4 separate regions of the Homo sapiens genome follow, and regions 2, 3 and 4 are each linked to region 1. The links are contacts of gene promoters, found by promoter capture Hi-C in blood cells and fetal thymus (Javierre and others, 2016). All regions are on one chromosome and are shown on one strand. The core of a region is centred on a gene start or on the middle of the fragment in contact, and the rest is flanking DNA. Distances in the headings are between cores, read along the strand shown.

Region 1 (2,700 bases), core at 11-2,510:
GGTTGCAGACAGCTACATTCTTGCTGTATCCTCAAATAGTAAACACAGAGATCATTTTTCTGACATCTCTTTTTATAAGGACATGAATCCCATTATGACGGCTCCACTTTCAGGACCTAATTACTTCCCAAAGGCCTTACCTCCTAATACTATCACACTGGGGATTAGGCTTCAACATATGAATTTTGAGGGTACACAAACATTTAGTCCACAGCAGGTACCAGCTGTGGTTGGCCAGGAAAGTCAGGACAGTGTGGTCTAGGAGGGCAAGGGGTGCTGTCAGGGAAGACACTTTGGACAAAGAGGGTGGAGGAGCAAAGGCCAGTGAGTCACCGCCTGTTTGAGGACCAGTAAGGACTCGGAATGGCTATGGCCTAGATAGTGTTGGGAAGGGCAATGATCGTGTGAAAGGTAGTAGAAGATAGGTTGGGGCCAAATCATGTGAGGACTGAAAGAGATTGGGGAAAGACTGGGCTTCCTACAGCCTGCTTGGTAGATAATAAGAACACTGACAGAACAGCAGCTGATTGTGTATGTTGGGCGCTTTACATTTTTTTACAAAGCACTTCCAGTCCTTCTTCCACTCTGCCCTCACAATTTCTAGCATACAGGCAAGAGTGATAAGTTTAGGATCAGGAGCCTGGTATCCACTTAGTCAGGAAACAAGTTGTGTAGATTCGAACAAGTCACTTCCCATCTCCAAGGCTTTACTCATCTCTAACCACAGGGGCCAATTCTCAGAGCTTTCGGAAGGATTTCACAAAACCATACACATAACAGTGCTATATCTAACTTCTGGTCCTCAGTTCTTTCTCTGTTAAATGAGGACAATTCCTGTCCAGCCTAATTCAGAGGGTCTGTGGCTGTGATTCTGTAAGCAAAGGTCAATGGTGAGAATCTTCTTAACGGGCCAGTGAGAAGTTTGTTCCCCTTTTGGCAGATGAGGCCAGGAAAGTTAGTGCTTCTTGGTTGGTGGCTGAAAGCCTCAGAGAAGGAACTTTGGATTCTTTAACGGTATCTCTTAGTACTCGCCACACTATTTCGTTTATACGGGGAAGAGAGGGACAGACAGCGCACAAGCGACAGACAGCGCAAAACCTACCGAAATAGAAAGAGCCAGGCGCCATAACAGACGGCCCGAGACAGGCCCACTTAAAGGACCAGAACTTCTCGTGCCCCGCCCCCCTCTCTCAAGGCCATCAATCAGACAGCGAGGCGCGCCGTGACGCCATCTTATCGCGACTAAACGGAGTGGCGGCGGCATTTCCTGGTGTCTGAGCCTGGCGCGGAGGCTATGGGCAGCCAGGAGGTGCTGGGCCACGCGGCCCGGCTGGCCTCCTCCGGTCTCCTCCTGCAGGTACTCTCTGCCCTTCAGGTTCCAGCTTGTACTGCAGCCGGGATTCGCGGGATGGCAGCCCTTGGGCCCTTGAGAGCCTGCCCCAGGGCCGACCCAGTCCCGAGGTGGACCCCGCAATGGAGGGGGTGGGGGGGTCGACCGGAGACGGTGGCATTGATGAGGGGGGACCCTGGCCCGGAGATAGGAGCCTGCCTTTAGAGTCTAGGCCGGGTGACTGCAGACAAGCCGCTTTCCTTCTGAGCATTCTATTTCCCATATGGCAGTAGGAGTGAATTAGATCAGGTGGCGGGGGTGAGGGACTGGTATTTCGTGCTCGAGAATCTGATATTTTTCAGGCAAGGGGTTCATTTCCTTCATCAAACACCTTCCTCAAACTTTGAGTCCCACTGAGTTCCGAGAGTCCATATGGCATAGCTAAGAAGAGAAATCTGGAGTTAGGCTTGGATTGCTCCGTGACCCAGGACAAGTGACTTCACCTGCAGAGCCTGAGTTCCTCACTAGTAAAATGGGGGTAATAATATGTCGTACTTAGCTCATAAGCAGGGATTGATTGGGATCATTCAAATAAACGTACTTAACACAGTACCCGGCTCTTAGTATGCATTTAATACATGTTGGCTGCATCTTCTGTTTATGTGATCTTGGACAAGTCACTTCCCTTCTTGGCCCTAATTTTTGTCATCTGTCAGGTATGATACAGGCCAGTTAGTCCAAATGGTATCTGAAGATTCTTTCAACCCCAGGAGCTGAACCTCTTAAGTCAAGTGGCTCAGTATCTCTCTGTCTCACTCTTGAGCCAATCAACCCTACTTCACACAAGTCCCGAATCTACCCTACCCCTTATCTTAGAGAGGCACATGGAGGGCAGAAGAAAGAACCAAGCAGAATGGGGCTTGAGTTTGGGCCTTGTCACTTGCTAGATGCCTGCCTTCGGGATAAATCCGATGACTTCTGTATCAGTTTCTTCATCTTAAATGAGAATCATAGTGCAACCTCACAGGGTCATTAGGAAGATTAGATGAAATCATGCCTCTTAAGTGCCTGGCACACTACAAGTACTTAATAAATGTAGCTATTTTTATTAGGGTAATAAGTATTTTTAAAATAGTCAATGTAGGAATGAAATGAGATAACCTATGGAAAGCATGTTGAAGAGTGCCTTGCACGTGATATGTGCTTAGTAAATGTTAGCCATTCTAAGTTTACCTAGGGATTTTTTTTTTCTGTTTCACTACATAAATAACTGAGTTTATTGTTTTATCCACAATGTTGGTTTTTTTTCAGCCTTTGATAATATCTTACTACTCAGATAGGCTTCATAAAACGAAAACAAGTTATAACGG
Region 2 (2,706 bases), core at 108-2,607, 150 kb before region 1:
GAGGGACGACTGCTTGAACCTGAGAGGCAGAGGTTGCAGTAAGCCGAGATCGCGCCACTGCACTCCAGCCTGGGTGACAGAGCCAGACCCTGCCTCATTTTTTTTTTAGCTCTGTCGCCCAGACTGGAGTGCAGTGGCGTGGTTTCTGATCACTGCAATCTTCACTTCTCGGGCTCAAGTGATTCTCGTGCCTCAGCCTCCCCAGTAGCTAGGGGGAAAAAAATTTTTTTTAGCATGGCCGAGCACAGTGGCTCCCGCCTATAATCCCAGCACTTTGGGACGCCAAGGCAGGCGGATCACCTGAGGTTGGGAGTTCGCAACCAGCCTGACCAACATGGAGAAACCCTGTCTCTACTAAAAATACAAAATTAACCAGGTGTGGTGGCGCAAGCCTGTAATCCCAGCTACTCGGGAGGCTGAGGCAGAAGAATCACTTGAACCTGGGAGGTGGAGGTTGCGGTGAGCCAAGGTCGCGCCATTGCACTCCAGCCTGGGCAACAAGAGTGAAACTCCATCTCAAAAAAAAAAATATTAAAGAATTGCTGTTGATTATTTTCCTGATCTTCACAATAACCCATGTTAGGAGAAGGACATTGAAGCTGAGAGTGACTGAGTCTGAGTCTGTGCCAAAGGTTGCATATTAAGCAGAGGTGGTCAAGGACCTGAACTAAGCAGCCTGGAGAGGTACTCTAGAATTCTCTTTTTTTTTGAGAGAGAGAGTCTCACTCTGTCACCCAGGCTGGAGTGCAGTGGTGCGATCTCGGCTCACTGCAACCTCCATCTCCCAGATTCAAGCAATTCTGCCTCAGCCGCCCACGTAGCTGGGACTACAAGCACATGCCACCATGCCTGGCTACTTTTTTTTTTTTTTTTTTTAATTTTTAGTAGAGACAGGGTTTCACCATGTTGGCCAGACTGGTCTTGAACTCCTGTCCTCAGGTAATCCACCCGCCTCGGTCTCCGAAAGTGCTGGAATTACAGGCGAGAGCCACTGCGCCCGGCCGGAATTCCTTTCTTGACTCCGTTGCCTAAGTGATAAATTATCCTTGAGGCTTTTCATAGTGTCTGAGGTCATTCACGTTACTGCTGTTTATTAAAAGCTTCTCACCTGCTGCTTTTCACCTGTCAAGTTCTAGGAAGCCAGGTAACCAAGTTCATTGGAATTTTGTGAAAAGCTTAAGTCAACAGGTCCTGAATAAGAGCTGTAGAGTTTCCTCTTTAAATTGAACAGATGGGTTTGAGATTTCTTGGTTGTCTCTAAAGACATTTTCCCTCACTGTTTATGGGTCCTTGTTCATAGATTAGGTGTTGCTATAAAAAATCTGATCTTTCAATAAGAAGTGTATGAATAACAGCTCGTTGAGTCTTCTGAAAAGTAATGTTTGTCTCAGCTGTCAGGACCCAGACAGTCTCTCTCACCAGAGGAGAGGCGGGAAGTGGTGCAGCCAGGCTGTCGATGAGCAGGAAGCCCACCATCAGATGAAGACAGAAGGAAGCAACAGCAAGAAATACCCAGTCACAGAATCAAACCAAGCTTGAAGCTCACCCTCCACTTCCATGTTTGACGCAGTATGAACTGGCTACCTATTACATGTAATATGAAGAGTCCTAAGAGCTTTCTAAAGGGCTTAGATCAATTCAAGATTCTAAACCTCTTAGAGTTTGCTGAATGGAGTTTTAGGTAAGAAGATAGCTGCCACACTCACACAGAGGTATAAGGAACCCATGCTGAGCCTATGCCATGGGGCTCCCAGCCCATGAGAGCCTTATGCACCTTGCATGTCTCTTCAGGTTCACCAGGCTACATTAGCCAAAAGTAAAGACAGCTAGGCTGGACACAGGTGGCTCACACCTGTAATCCTAGCACTTTGGGAGGCGAAGGTGAGAGGATCATTTGACCCCAGGGGTTCAAGATTGACCTGGGCAATATTGCAACATCCCCACCCCTTATACAAAATAAATTTAAAAATCAGCCAGGTGTGGGTGGTATGTGCCTGTGGTCTCACCTACTCTAGACACTGAGGTGGGAGGATCACTTGAGCCTAGGAGCTGCAGTGAGCTACGATTGTGCCACTGCACTCCAGCCTGGGCAACAGAGCAAGACTCTATCTCTAAAAAATAAACTAAGATAAAGTAAACGACTTTTAAAGTAAGCGACTTTTAAAGTAAACAACAATTAAACGACTGCTAGTAAGAGATTTCTTATAACCAGCAGAGATGGAATGGCTGGGGGAGAGGTGATGCAAAGTCAATGTGACAGTCACATCATGTTCAACCAACATTTATTTCAGATGAGTCTGAATAAATTTGAAGTGCAATTCCACAAGAAATCATAAGCTGACATTTGTCATGTTTGTCCCCTCCAAATCTGATGTTGAAATGTGATCTTGATGTTGGAGGTGGGTCCTGGTGGGAGGTGTTTGGACCCCAGGAGTGGATCCCACATGAATGGCTTCCTGCCTTTCTCGTGGCAGTGAGTGAGTCCTTACTGTTAGTTCTCAGGAGAATTGATAGGTTTTTTGGTTTGGTTTTTTTTGTTTTGTTTTTTGGGGTTTTTTGCTTTTTGTTTTTGTTTTTGTTTTTGTTTTGTTTTGTTTTGTTTGAGACAGAGCCTCACTCTGTTGCCCAGGCTGGAGTGCAGTGGCGCGATCTCGGTTCACTGCAACCATACCTCCCAGGTTCAAGCAATTCTCCTGCCTCAGCCTC
Region 3 (2,700 bases), core at 63-2,562, 210 kb before region 1:
CTCCAGCCTGGGCAACAGAATGAGACTGTGTCTCAAAAAAATAAATAAATAAACTGGGCTCTGAAACTGGAAACATTCTTTTGTATATAATTTAGTTTACTATTTCATTTAATAGCACTACATTTCTGTTGTCGGTTTATTAAAATAAGGTTTATGCCTTTGTTTTTTTGCAGCTGTGGACTATCAGCTGCCCATGTCCCTAAGCAACAGAACTTAGTTTGGGACACACAGGATGGGAACAGATACAGATAATTCTTTCCACAAAGAAAGTATTATTATTACTATTATTATTTTCTTTTTTTTGAGACGGAGTCTTGCTCTGTTGCCCAGGCTGGAGTGCAGTGGTGTGATCTAGGCTCATGCAAGCTCTGCCTCCCGGATTCATGCCCTTCTCCTGGCTCGGCCTCCCAAGTAGCTGGGACTACAGGCACCCGCCACCACGCCTGGCTAATTTTTTTGTATTTTTGGTAGAGAAGGGGTTTCACCGTGTTAGCCAGGATGGTCTTGATCTCCTGACCTTGTGATCTGCCTGCCTCGGCCTCCCAAAATGCTGGGATTATAGGCATGAGCCACCACGCCCGGCCAGAAAATATTATTTTTGCCCAGAATAGTGGTGATGGGTTTTTTTTTTTAAGATATTTATTACTTTTTCTACTTTATTTTGTCTGAATATGTTTCTAAGTAAGGTTTTTCTATCTGTTTATTTAATTGAGTGTCTACTGGTTACCAGCACTGAGCCAAGAGCTGTGGTGCTTTAATGTTAACGATACAGTTACCTATGTGGTGTAAGCAGGCAGTTAAGTCAACTGAGACTCAGAGATGCATAACTATTACCCTGTTGGAGAGTTAGGATTATGACTATTCTTCTGCTTTTTAGTCCAGGGTTCTTTCAGGCATTTTTACAATCTCTAATAACGATTGGATGTAGTCAGCAAAGCTAGAGTGGCCCTTCCAAGAAACTACAGTACTAAAAAATATACTTGATTCCAGTGTATTAGTATGGATATTGAAGGTATGGGTGTTTGAGGACAGTTTGTTGGACATTGACTATAGGGATATGAAAACTGGTTATGGTAACAATGATTGTGCTCTAATTGGCATCTAAGGATATAGTTGGAGAAATGTTGCTTCTAACTTAAAAAGTAAAAGTTAATGTGTTTGAATTTCACTTGGCGGGGGGGTAATTGGTCTTGGGGGATGTCTTCAGTATAAAATAGAAAAAGTTACTAAAAATTATACACCTCTTAATTCCCTGAATGAGAAGTAACAAGGCCTATTTTAAAGCTAGAAACCCCCAAGTTCTTTTCCGTAGCACACTTTGAAGTATAAGTGAAATAGGTTCTATCTTTTGACTTCTCAGTAAACTATTTGTCCAGGTAATTACCTCTCAGATTTTAAATTCTGTGGACATATTAGACATGCTTTGTAATAGCTGTAAGTTCAGATGGATTTATTTAAACTAATGTTAACAATGTAATTATTTCAGATTGCTCTTTTCTTTGTACTGAATATTCCATTAAAGGGAAAATTCGGCTGGGCAAAGTGGCTCAACACCTGCAATCCCACGATTTTGGGAGACCGAGGCAAGCAGATTGCTTGAGCCCAGGAGTTTGAGACCAGCCTGGGCAACATGTCAAAACCCCCACTCCACAAAAAAATAGAAAAATTAGCCAGGTGTGGTGTCACACACTTGTAGTCCCAGCTACCCAGGAGGCTGAGGTGGGAAAGTCGCTTGAACCCAGGAGGCTGTCCAGGCTGCAGTGAGCCATGATTGCGCCACTGCACTCCAGCCTGGGCAACAAGCGAGACCCTGACTCAAAAAATGAAAAGAGGGTGGGAGAAATTCTGCAAATGAATATGGATCCAATTTTTTTTTAAGTGAAATAGGCTTAATTCTGTTCTTTACTGCCTGGAAACTTAATCTAGCCATCACTCCTAAGTGGTTTGATTATTAAAGTAGTCAGTAGGGAAAGTTATCCGGACCCAGTTACCATTTAGCATAAACCTGAGATGAATTGTATTATATTTTTTTCACAAGGCAAAAGTCCTGTGAAATTGAAAGTGTGACATAACACAAATGTAATTGAACCATGAGTAACCAGAAGCTAACTAATTAGAGCTTCAGTTGTCTGGAAATATTTTTATAGTTCGTGTGTGGAAGAAATGAAGGCAAATTATAAGAAAACAAGCTAATACTAGGTTTTATTTTCTGAAAATCAAGCAGATATCCAGAGAATAACCTGGGGTCGGCATTAAAATGTCAATATTTTATAACTTTAACTCCACTGTAGTATCATAGGTTAAATTGTTATAGTGAGACCTAAAATCATCAGGAGTATTTATTATGTTAACTAGAACATTCTTGGGGAGAAAGTGCATTAATGCATTTTACTTTAGAAAATTTTCAACTGATTGAAACAAAAGTTTTCTTAGTTGAACAGAAAACTCACTTAACCAGGTCATTTCATTAGGGAAAGTATTTAAAGGAATAGCTGTATTGGGGAGAAGTGATAAGACAACAGAAAATGATTTTGTGAGTGTTAAGCCCTCTCGAGTGTGTGTTTTGTCTACATAGTCTTAAAAGTGGAAAATAGTCTTGTCAGGTCAGCGAGCTATTAAGTTGTTTAGGGATTTGTTCTTTAAATAAAAAGTTAGTATCTGATTATGCATACAGGTAATTATACCTGATTCTATAGCTGC
Region 4 (2,700 bases), core at 165-2,664, 190 kb before region 1:
AAGAGGATCTCATTACAACCAGCTTGGAATGGACAGCAGTCTTCTATGACTTCTGTGGTTTCATTTATGTAATATAATACTCTTGAAATTACAACATTGTAGAAATAGAGAACAGGTTCCTATTTGCCAAGAGTCAGGGACGGGAGGGGCCAGAGCAAGGTGGATTTGGGCTATAAAAGGGCACCAGGTATCCTGGTGGCCATGGAAATTTCTGTATCTCGACTGATGTCAGTATCCTGGCTGTGATAGTATACCATAATTTTGTAAAATGTTACCATTGGAGGAAACAATTTATAGGGCACCAAGATCTGTCTGTTCTTTACAGTTGCATTTGAAGGTACAATTATTTCAAAATAAAAAGTTTTAATGTTTTCTTAAAAAAAGCATAATGATACCTGCCATTTCTGTGCTAGGGAATCATTGTAAGTATTTAAGGAGGTACAAGGTATGCTGAGGTGTGTCATCATATGGGCCCACATGGTAGCAATGGGTCTTATCCATCCGTGTGTCTGTTTCAGCTTGTATGTTCAGTATTCTACTCTACCTTATCCAAAAAGCAGTTATAGTAGCTTTAATATATTATAATCTTTAATAAAGTTCATTTATCTTGCAGCAAGTTTGTTTAGGGCTTTCTTTGAACTGAGCACCATATTGGGAATAAAAAGAATGGGATAAGAAATGCCATAGACTGAGCTCAGTCCATTTCACATGTAAACAGTCAGTCATAGGATGGATATAGAGCTGGGGTTTGTTTTGAAAGCTTTGTATTGTAACAATTTTAATATCTTTTTTTTTTTTTTAGATGGAGTCTCACTCTGTTGCCTAGGCTGGAGTGCAGTGGCGTGATCTCGGCTCACTGCAACCACTGCCTCCCGGGCCCAAGCGATTCTCCTGCCTCAGCCTCCCAAGTAGCTGGGATTACAGGCACGCCACCACAGCTGGCTAATTTTTGTATTTTTAGTAGAGACGGGTTTCACCTATGTTGGCCAGGCTGGTCTTAAACTCCTGACCTCAAGTGATCCGCCCACCTCAGCCTCCCAAAGTGCTGGGATTACAGGTGTGAGCCACCATGCCCGGCAACAATTTTAATATCAATTTAGAATGCATCTTAGAATCAATATGATTCTTAGTTTAATTGGGAGCCTTTTGCTTAAAAGCTTGATAGTACATAAATAATGGTTGCATCTTACACTTAGTAACATCTTAGGTTCACTGAGATCTGGTGATAATGTCTAAAACTATTTTGTGTAATCTTTATCTGAATGTTTTACCTGTCCTGATTTTATTAAACAGAATTTGGGGAGGAGATACTTGTTTTCTTTAGATAGAGTATTAACAATTTGAGGGTCTGATGGTACATTTAGTGAATTCCATGATGATAATATATTATTTACATACACCCAAATGTTGAAACCTCATTTCTTCTTATCTTTTTTTCCCTTTGTTTTTCAAGTGTCGATATATAGTATCTGGTTTTATGACAAGAATGACTGTCACCGCATAGCAAAACTCATGGCTGAGTAAGTATATTACTCCATAAATTTAACTGATGATATGTGAGAAATGAAAAATAATCCCCTCCCACTTCTCTTTGTTACTAAAGTCTGCCAACTCATGTATTTCCCCAATTTCTTTTTACTGCCAAAAACTTGGAAAAGGCTGAAAAGCTTTAAAATATATATAATTATTATCTTAACTCCTCCCAGTGTGCATTTCAGTTTCCTTCCAGTCTTCCTTCTTTGTGTATATATTAAGTAGATGTGTGTGATTGTTTTTTTACAAAAATAGGATCCTACTGTATGTATACTGCTTTTCATATCAACAGCATTTTTCCAGGGCATTAAATCTTTCTCTGTAGTATTTATGACAGCTGCATTGTATCCAGCTCTATAGACAGATCATGATTTAACCAGAACTTTACTGTTGGACCTGTAGGTTAAGGCTGCCAAACTGCCCGGCTCCAGAGGATATCTGCATCAGGTGTACAGCCTGACCATATACAGCAACTCTGATTTAGGTTCTGTGCAGATTTCCACTGTAACAAGTGATACCATATGTGATAGCCTGATAGAGAACTCATACACACATCTGTATTTAGTTCTTTTAAGTGAACTTGTTTTTGACACAGACTCTAGGCTTAACAGGCCCCAATCCACTCATGGGTTGTGTTCCAGAAGATTTTTTGTGACTCAGAACCTTGAAATTTAGAAAATTATTTTCCTTGAATTAATGTTCTAAAGGGCAGTTCATTGTCCTCTCTCAAGCTAGCCTGTAGAAGCCAGCCCTTGTGTGACCTATCCGTATTGCTGGACTGCCATTCTGGATTCTGGAAGCCCATTACACGGGGCTTCAGGGGGCCTGAGGGACTACAGAGCTCTGGGCAAAATGCTATAATAGGTAGACGGTATATTCTGGTGCACCTCTGCTTTTTTTCAGTTTTTGCCTGAATCTTCTCAGAAATGTGGACCTCTCTCCCCCCTCCACCATCCCCATCTGTCAAATCAAAATTCCTTTTGCTCTCTTACAGTTTTCAATCACATGTTTAAAAGAAAATAATCTTAAATTTTTTAACAGTCTAATCTTATTTTATTTTTATTTTATTTTACTTTATTTGGTTTTTTTTAGACAGAGTCTCGCTCTGTCACGCAGTCTGGAGTGCAGTGGCGCAGTCACAGCTCAGTGCAGCCTCAAACTTCTGGG

What was found. Contacts are between HindIII fragments. The CHiCAGO score rates a contact against its expected background, and 5 or more counts as called.
Region 2: a contact is called between a fragment that was not itself captured here and the fragment with the promoter of RFT1 in region 1, in 3 of 17 cell types (M1 macrophages, neutrophils and M0 macrophages). The highest score is 6.9, in M1 macrophages.
Region 3: a contact is called between a fragment that was not itself captured here and the fragment with the promoter of RFT1 in region 1, in 1 of 17 cell types (neutrophils). The highest score is 6.2, in neutrophils.
Region 4: a fragment that was not itself captured here is called in contact with the fragment with the promoter of RFT1 in region 1 in 1 of 17 cell types (M0 macrophages); the score reaches 6.1 in M0 macrophages.

What each region holds. Positions count from the first base shown.
Region 1 is chr3:53,128,995-53,131,694 of GRCh38, reverse strand. RFT1 (RFT1 glycolipid translocator homolog) reads left to right here and starts at 1,260. Exons shown (of 13, transcript NM_052859.4): 1 at 1,260-1,357. The coding sequence starts at 1,295. RefSeq lists enhancers at 855-904, 915-1,114, 1,155-1,204, 1,215-1,404. The HindIII fragment of the contact is 8,425 bases long and covers 1-2,700 here.
Region 2 is chr3:53,274,133-53,276,838 of GRCh38, reverse strand. All of the region lies in intron 1 of LOC107986087 (a long non-coding RNA gene), which reads right to left. Among named protein-coding and RNA genes, the nearest start is that of TKT, 19 kb to the right of the region's middle. The HindIII fragment of the contact is 359 bases long and covers 1,178-1,536 here.
Region 3 is chr3:53,339,057-53,341,756 of GRCh38, reverse strand. The region is part of intron 3 of DCP1A (decapping mRNA 1A); the gene reads left to right. Among named protein-coding and RNA genes, the nearest start is that of DCP1A, 7.1 kb to the left of the region's middle. The HindIII fragment of the contact is 5,444 bases long and covers 1-2,700 here.
Region 4 is chr3:53,318,227-53,320,926 of GRCh38, reverse strand. It overlaps DCP1A (decapping mRNA 1A), which reads left to right. Exons shown (of 10, transcript NM_018403.7): 4 at 1,454-1,520. Among named protein-coding and RNA genes, the nearest start is that of SNORD38C, 14 kb to the left of the region's middle. The HindIII fragment of the contact is 510 bases long and covers 1,160-1,669 here.